2 separate regions of the Homo sapiens genome follow, and region 1 is linked to region 2. Evidence: promoter capture Hi-C in human tissues and cell types (Jung and others, 2019). All regions are on one chromosome and are shown on one strand. Each heading gives the region's core, a stretch centred on a gene start or on the middle of the fragment in contact. The rest is flanking DNA. Distances are from core to core; before and after follow the strand shown.

Region 1 (4,322 bases), core at 1,558-4,057, 720 kb before region 2:
TAACAAAGGCATTTTAGTGAACATCTAGTCCAGTGTTGTCTGACGTGTATACCCTCCCAAAGTTTTGTCAGGTAAATTTACAAGTCAGAAGGGTCTTCTTTTCCTCTTCTTCTTTTTTTTGAGACGGACTCTCACTCTGTCACCAAGGCTGGAGTGCAGTGGCATGATCCTGGCTCACTGCAACCTCTGCCTCCTGGGTTCAAGTGATTCTTCTGCCTCAGCCTCCCGAGTAGCTGAGATTACAGGTGCCCACCACACCCAGCTCATTTTTGTATTTGTAGTAAAGACAGTGTTTCACCATGTTGGCCAGGCTGGTCTCAAACTCCTGGCCTCAACTGATCTGCCCGCCTCGGCCTCCCAAAGTGCTGGGATTACAGGAATGAGCCATCATGCTCGGTCAGAACGGTCCTTCTTGACTCCACACATCCCCATCCCACCCCCTCCAATTCCCTTGGTCCTTTTCAAGCTCTGTCCCGCCCTGCCCCAGGCCCTCACTCAGCACCCTTAAAGCACAGAATGGAAACTGGCTCTCATGAGTGTGGCCACCAGAGAAGGTTTGCCCAGAGTGGGTCCCAGAGGAAGAGGTCTTGGAAGGTTCTGCAGTACCACATCTGCCCCTGGGCATCAGGTAGAGAAAAACAGATGCAAGCAGAGGTCAAGCTAAAGTGGAAAAGGTTACGAGGCCACAGGGGAGAAGAAGCCAGGGAGCCAACATCTGGGGCAGGAGGGGCAGAGGAAGAGAGCCTATTAGTACCTGAATCGGATCCGGGAAATTGAGTGGAAATTGACTCAGGAGCTGGGGCCAGGTGGGAGGATGGTGGAGGCCCTCTGGCTGCCAGGAAACACAGCAATGAGTTCCAGCCAGCAGCGCGTGTGAGTGTTAAGTCCAGTCAGCACCCATGTGGGGAGCGGGGAGCCCCTCACCAGCCTGGCCTCAGCCTGCCTGACACAGCCACCTTGGAAAATCTCAAGGGAGAGCTGCTGGTGTTACTCAATGCAGCTGAGGTTGGCTGGTGTGAGTCTGTGCAGGCTGCCCGCCACCCTTGAGCCTCTTTCTGCCACAGCAGGCAGGCATGAGGCTCTGTCAAGGGATCCCCCGAGGCCCTCACCTGAGAGGGTGTCAGGCCCTGGGCCCCCATCCTCAAGACATTGAAGTTCCAGCACGAAGGTCTCGGTGGCTGGCCCCACTTCCATCCTGGCGGTCAGACCCCGATTCCCGGGAGTCGGCTGTGCTGAAAGGAAGGAAGCAGTTTAGCCAGGCTGGAGTGCTTTGACCCCCGCCAGGTGCCCACAGGCCCCCAAAGGCCCTCCACCTCTGCCTCGGGCCACCCAGAGCGGTCAGCTCCATACCTGCTGCAACTATAGGACTGTCCCCCGCAACGGGGAACGGGGAGTGCCGGCGGCCTGGAGGCTCAGGACTGGGGAGTTGGCAGACAGCACCAGAGGCTGTCACCTGCATAGAGGCAGGACTGCCTCTCCTGACTTTTCACAGCGGGATGGAGAGTGGGGTAGCCCCACAGAGACACAACTGTGGGTATCAGCCCTTCACAAGGGAGGAAAGCTAGAGTCACCAAAGGGACATTCAGGGCGGGGAGCTCTGGGGCCAAAGAGAGACTGTCCATCAACATCCTCCCTGCCTCCTTCAATTCTTTTTTTATTAAATACTTTTTTTTTTTTTTCTTGATACGGATTCTCACTCTGTCACCCAGGCTGGAGTGCAGTGGTGCGATCTGGACTCACTGCAACCTCCGTCTCCCCAGTTCAAGCGATTCTCCTGCCTCCGCCTCCTGAGTAGCTGGGGCTACAGGTGCGTGCCATCACCCCCAGCTAATTTTTATGTTTTTTTATATTGTAGATGATGTTGCCCAAGGCTGGTCTCGAACTCCTGGCCTCAGGCGATCCTCCTGCCTCGGCCTCCTAAAGTGTTGGGATTATAGGAGTGAGCCACTGCGCCTGGCGCCCTTCCATTCTATTGCCTTCCTGGCCTGCTCTGAGAAGGCCGCCAGCAGGCCACGTGTGTCAGCTGCCACCCCAGCTCCCGGGCAAGGCAGGTGTCCAGAGCACTGTCACCCACGGCCTGGCCCTGTGCCCAGGCGCTCCTGAGAGTCCACCCTGGCCCGTGCAGAGCTGGCCCCTCTCCCCTAAACAGGCCGACTCGTGCCATCCAGTCCAAACTCTCTCAAGGGACGCGTCCCCGGTTGCCCAGCGCCAACGACCCCCTGGGCCTCACCTGGTGGAGCATTTCCTGCTCCCGGGCAGCCTCTGCGCTAGGGAGGTGTGGTCAGCAGAGGCTGCGAGGTGAAGGCCACGGCGTGCAGCCGGCTCCTTCCGGAGGCGCCTCCATCCAGAAAGAGCCAGGAGGCGCAGGGCCACCCCGGGGGCTTTCTGGGCACTCCGGAGGGTCCACGCCCTCTGGGCTGCCGAGGTCGCCCTGGGCCAAGGGAAGGGGCTGAGAGGAGCGGCCGAGCAGAAGTTGGTGGAGACTCTCCGGCGGGGGCTGGGGCGGGAGGCAGGGCCCCGAATCCCGCGCGGGGCTCAGGGCCGGCCCCCCGGGACCATCGCGGGCAGCGGGATCCAGGCCGGCGCCCGGGGTCGGCACCACGGGGTGGCCCCGCCTGGGGTCGGCGGCGGCCAGGCGACGCGGGTCCTCGGGGGCTACAGGTGCCCGGAGCCTGCGGGCGGCCTGGGCCGGGCCGCGCGGGGGCCGGGGCGGGGGCGGGGCGGGCGCCGCGGCAAGGCCGGGTCCCCCTGGGCTCGCCCGCCCGCCCGGGAGTGCGTCCGTGCGGGCCGCTGGCCGGGCCGGGGGCGGGGGCGCGGGGGCCGGCACAGGAAGTCCCCCCGGCATCCGCATCCTGTCCCCCGCCCCTGCCCGCCCGCCGCGCCCCCGCGCCCCGGCCCCCGCCGCCGCCGCCGCCGTCGCCGCCGCCGCTCTAGGCAGCCGCAGCTCGGTGGGCTTAACCATTCCCGGCCCGGCCACTCACCCGGCCCGGGGGACACGATGCGGCGGCCCCTGGGGCGTCCCGGGCTGGCCGGTGCCGAGCGCAGCGCGCGCTGTGCCGCATCCCTGCTGCGCGTGTCCTCGCGCCACGGGGTTGGCGACTGTCACTGCCTGGGTGTCTGGGTGGGGGGTACCCAACCCGATCCCTGCCACCCCCTAGAGGGCAGGCGTGGCCTCGGGGCGCCCCTGCCGCGGTGCAAATTGTGGCTAATTAGCACACAATTCGATGGCACTCGGAGAGGGAGTAGGCGCCATCCGGGCCCGGCCCGAGCGGGCCCTGGAGAGGCCACCCCGGTCCGCACCGTGGAGCCCTCCTCCTAGACCCCGGGGCTGGGGAGGGCAGGCCAGTAGGGAGTGTGTGCCTCCCTCCCCCGATCAGGGACTGTGACCTGCATAGATCAAATGAGGCCACCGTGGAGAACTGGCAGAGCTGGAATCCTCCCGCCCAGCGCCCCTGCGGCCTTTCGCTGACCACAAGGCTGGTGGTCAGGCCTCCCACCTCCCTCACCCTCTCCTCTCCTCTTTCCCTACTTGGCAAGTGGATTCCTGCCTGGGTCAGGGGTCTTCTCCAAGGGAGGCCTTCCCTAACCCCGTCTTAATGTTGCACCACCTAACTTTCCTGTTCTCGGTGCACAAACCTCTCTAACCTGGAGAATTCAAATTCAAATTGGGATGCTCAAATTCTTTAGAAAAAACCAAAGATCTGGGGGCAGGGCATGGTACTTCACGCCTGTAAACCCAGCATTTCGGGAGGATCACTTGAGGCTGGTAGTTTGAGACCAGCCTAGCCAACATAGCAAGACCCCATCTCTACAAAAGAGGTTTTTAAAAAATTAGCTGGGCTACTGAAAAGTAGCCTGTAATCCCAACTACTTTGGAGGCCAAGGTGGGTGGACCACTTGAGCCCGGGAGGAGGTCGAGGCTGCAGTGAACTATGATCGCGCCACTGCACCCCAGCCTGGGTGATAGAGTGAGACCCTGTCTCCATCTAAAAACAAGCAAACATGCTGGGCGCGGTGGCTCACGCCTATAATCCCAGCACTTTGGGAGGCCGAGGCGGGCAGATCACCTGAGGTCTGGAGTTGGAGACCAGCCTGGCCAACATGGAGAAACTCCATCTCTACTAAAGATACAAAATTGGCCGGGCATGGTGGCACATGCCTGTAACGCCAGCTACTCTGGAGGCTGAGGCAGGAGAATCGCTTGAATCTGGGAGGTGCTCCTGGGGTGCAGCAGGAATGCCCCCCTGGTGGGGGACAAGAGCCCTCAGGGTTCACAGCCCCCTCCCTTCCTCCTGTCCCTGGGCTCACACTGCTGTGGCACA
Region 2 (4,094 bases), core at 1-2,500:
AGGCAATTTCGATAGTCAGTAAGTCACATCTGAAGTAGCACCAGGTAATTTTTATGAAAACTCAAGTCTCTAGGTTTCTTTCCTAGTGCTAATTTGTAATACACCAATGCTTGTAAGAAATAAAGGTGTGCCCATCTGCAGACACATAGCTCCCTGAAAATTAAATCCAGTCAGTTCCCAGCCATTTGAACTGACAAGTTGCTTTTTTTTCTTTTTCTGGAGATGGGGTCTGTGCTGCCCAGGCTGTAGTGCAGTGGCGCTATTACAGCTCACCTGCAGCCTCAATCACTTGGGCTCAAGCGATCCTCTGGCCTCAGCCTCCTGAGTAACTGGAAATACAGGTGCGTGCCACCACGCCCGGCTCACTTTTCAATTTTTTTTTTTTTTGTAGAGTTGGGGGTCTTGCTATGTTGCCCAGGCTGGTCTGGAACCCCTGGCCTCAAGCAATCCTCCCATCTCGGCCTCCTAAAGTGCTGGGATTACAGGCGTGAGTCACAGCGCCCAGCCTGGACAGTCTTTAACAGAAGTCTGACTTGCTGGAAACAAAACACAGCTCCGGACATCCTTTGAGAAAGTCGCCGTCCCCACCTCAGAAAAACCACACACACACACACACACACACACACACACACACACACACACACACACCCCCCTCCCGAAATTAATTTATTTCCTCATTTGGGCGAAAACTATTACAGGGACCTCCAGGCTTGCATCATTTGAAGGCTAGCGTCTGCCACCCTGGTTCCACGCTTCTAGTTGGGGACTACCCACTTAACAAAGCCAAGTTCAATTTTAATTTCCCAGAACTGACGCAAAGCAAAGCGCAAAGAGCCTCAACCTGGGGTGTGGAGTGATATAGACCCGACGGGGCTTTATTCCATCGACCTAGGACCTGAAGCGGTCCCTGCCTGCTGTCAGGTCCCCGCCGCAGCCCCCTGCCCGGACTCGCACCTGGCACAATGCAGGCTAGGTCAGTGCCCCTCGAGGTGGGCAGAACCACAGGGCCACCTTCCCGGGGAACACCGGCGCCGCCCGCCCGCGCGCCGCCCCCTCCGCATACCTGTCCTTCGCGCGGCCCGAAGCGCGGGTTGTAGATGAAGAAACTCAGCAGCGCCGGCGGGAACTGCTTCTCCTGGGCCGCCCAGGGCCCGCTCCCGGCCCCGGCCGCCGCTGCAGCCATCCCGCCCCGGCCCCCACCTCGGGAGCCTCCCACGGCCCGCCCAGAGACAGCAGCCACCGGCTAAAACACCGCACTTCCGCCTCCGTCGCCACCGCCCCGGAAGCGCTCGCCGCAGGCCCGGAAAAAGAATCCGCCTCGCAGCGTCCTCTTCAGGCACCCCCGGGTGGCTGTTTCCTGGCCGAGTTTGTGTTTTCCTGGCTCGCGGAGTTTTCTCCTGGCTACAGGCGAGGGCTGCGCGTTTCAGGAAAAACCGAGCGGGCACTGTTTTTTTTTTGTTGTTGTTTTTTCTGATAGGGTCTCAGTTTGTCATCCAGGCTGGAGTGTAGTGGCGCGATCTCAGCTCACTGCAGCCTCAACGTCCGAGACTCAAGCAATCCCCCTGCCTCAGCCTCCCAAGTAGCTAGGATTACAGGCGCGCGCCACCAAGGCCAGTTTTATTTTTTTGTAGAGGTGGGGTCTGTGTTGCCCAGGCTGCTCTCGAACTCCTGGCCTCAAATGGTCTCCCACTTCGGCCTCCCAAAGTGCTCCGATTACAGGCGTGAGACACCACCGCCCAGCCTGTTGTTGTTTTGGTGGTATTGTTTTAAATTTAATTTAGAGACAAGATCTCGCTTTGTCACCCAGGTTGCAGTGCAGTGGTGCCATCATAGCTCACTGCAGCCTCAACTCCTGGGCTCAAGGGATCTTCCCACCTCAGCCTGAGGAGTAGCTGAGACCACAGGCATGCACTACCATGCCCAGATAATTAAAAAATAGATAGATAGATAGTAGAGACAGGGTCTCACTTTGTTGCCCCGGCTGCTCTCTAACTCTTGGCATCAGGGGATCCTCCTGCCTCTGCTACTGGATGGAAGGTCTTGACCGTGGATTGCCCAGGTTCTTGGCTTGTTGAACACAGAACTGAACAAAATGCAATGCACAAAGTAACAAAAGAACAAAGCAACGAAAAGAAACAAAAGAAAAAACTGAAGTAAGGAAGAAACAGATTTATTGAAGCGAAAGTACAACTCACAGAGCAGGAGCAAGCTAGAGCAAACAGCTCAAGAGCCCCCATTAGGATTTTTATTAAGCTGGAAGAATTAGGTAACGCCCCTAGGTGCCCGTTAGAGGTCTCCGATTGGTTACACCCTCTGAAGGATTGGCCTGTGACCAATCAGAGGCTGAAGTGGAGACGCGCACCCGCCCCCCCCCCCCCCCCCGTCAATCAGAGGCTGTCACCCTCCCCCCCGCCCCCCCCCCCGTCGTCCATCAATCAGCCTCTGATTGAGGGAATGAACACGTGGCCTCTATGCTGCCTAATCTTGCCTAGAACTGGCTGCACCTGCTGTTCTTTTGTTTATGCCTTAACCCTTGGTTACCCTCATTCCCTATTCTGCCTCACCTGCCCTCCCAAAGTGCTGGGATTACAGATGTGAGCCACCCACACCAGGTCCATTGTTTTGTTTTTAGTTTATTTAAAAAGTATTTTATTCTAAAACAGCACTTTGCTCTGTTGCCCAGGCTGGATTGCAGTGGCCAGATCAGACGTCACTGCAGCCTGGAACTCCTGGGCTCAAGTGATCCTCCCACCTCAGCCTCCCGAATAGCTGGGACCACAGGTGCATGCCACCATGGCTGGCTAATTTTTAAATTTTTCGTAGAGCTGGGGTCTCACTATGTTAACCCAGGCTGGTCTCGAACTCCTGGACTCAAGTGATCCACTGGCCTTGGGCTCTCCAAGTGCTGGGATTGTAGGCATAAGCCCCTGTGCCATGGCAGTTTTTTTTGTAGAAGGAAATGTAGAGACACAAAGGAAGCCTCATTTAGAAATAAACAAGGCTAGCCACGGTGGCTCATAGCTGTAATCCCAGCACTTTGGGAGGCCAAGGTGGGTGGATCACTTGAGGCCCGGAGTTCCAGACCAGCCCCGTCTCTACTAAAATACAAAAAACTAGCCAGGCGTGGTGGCACATGCCTGTGGTTCCAGCTACTTGGGAGGCTTGAGGCAGAAGAATTACTTGAACCCAGTAGGTGGAGGTTGCAGTGAGCCAAGATTGCACCACTACACTCCAGCCTGGGCAACAGATCCAGACCCTGTCTCAACAAAAAAAAAAAAAAAAGAAAGAAAGAAAGAAGAAAAGAAAGAAAAGAAACACACTTAAGGGCAGATGTGCATTCCGTTTGGCCCATTAACATCATCTACAGAGTCCTTGTTTGAGAGACCTCAAGTGACCACTGGATCACCCACACCTACAAAGTTTGCCCCTTTCCCCCATTCCTTCAGCGCAGGTCTGGAGGCAGATGGGGCACCGTGTGTGCCACGGGAGCAATATCAGAGGTGGCAGACTCCCCAGAGTGGCTGTTCCTGGACCTTGCTGCCTGGGATTCCCTTGCCTTTGAGGTGTGTGGGTTGTGGCATAGTTGGGATGGCTTGTTACAGTTATGTGGATTCAAGCCTTGGCAGCATATGGTTTGACCAAGCTCAAGAAGACTTTGGTTTAGATTGCCTTATCTGTCACATATTAAGTTTGGAAGCAGAACCACTTCCCTTATCCAGCCTGGCAGAATAGACCACTTTTAGGGAAGTGATGAGTTGGAATTTGGACTGGAGACAGATCTGGGTACATATCCACTTTTGCCACTCACCGACTGCACCAATCTCCTTGCACCAAAGAAGAGATGGAGACTCTCTTGTCTGTATCTCTTATTTGGAAAATGGCTAATAGTAAATTCCTGCCAAGTGAGAGTTTCACTTGAAGAGTTAAATGGGACTATGAATGTGCATCAGGTGCCAGCACCTCATCATTATTTCATAAACGATTGCTACTGCTCCTTGCTATTGACTTTCCCAATTAGCTTGCTCTAGTGCATGAAATTATTCCATGAGAAATACATGTTTTGGCTGGGTGTGGTGGCTCATGCCTGTAATCCC

What was found. The method cuts DNA at HindIII sites, captures the fragments that hold promoters and counts their contacts. A contact is called where the count stands out against the background at its distance.
Region 1: a contact is called between the fragment with the promoter of ZNF853 here and the fragment with the promoter of CCZ1 in region 2, in 1 of the 25 tissues and cell types used here (lymphoblastoid cells).

What each region holds. Positions count from the first base shown.
Region 1 is chr7:6,614,095-6,618,416 of GRCh38, reverse strand. It overlaps ZNF853 (zinc finger protein 853), which reads right to left and starts at 2,807. Exons shown (of 3, transcript NM_017560.3): 1 at 2,231-2,807; 2 at 1,110-1,227. The coding sequence starts at 2,242. RefSeq lists enhancers at 3,170-3,923, 3,924-4,322. The HindIII fragment of the contact is 23,550 bases long and covers 1-4,322 here.
Region 2 is chr7:5,895,889-5,899,982 of GRCh38, reverse strand. CCZ1 (CCZ1 vacuolar protein trafficking and biogenesis associated) reads right to left here and starts at 1,250. Exons shown (of 15, transcript NM_015622.6): 1 at 1,064-1,250. The coding sequence starts at 1,183. RefSeq lists an enhancer at 2,033-2,112. The HindIII fragment of the contact is 16,541 bases long and covers 1-4,094 here.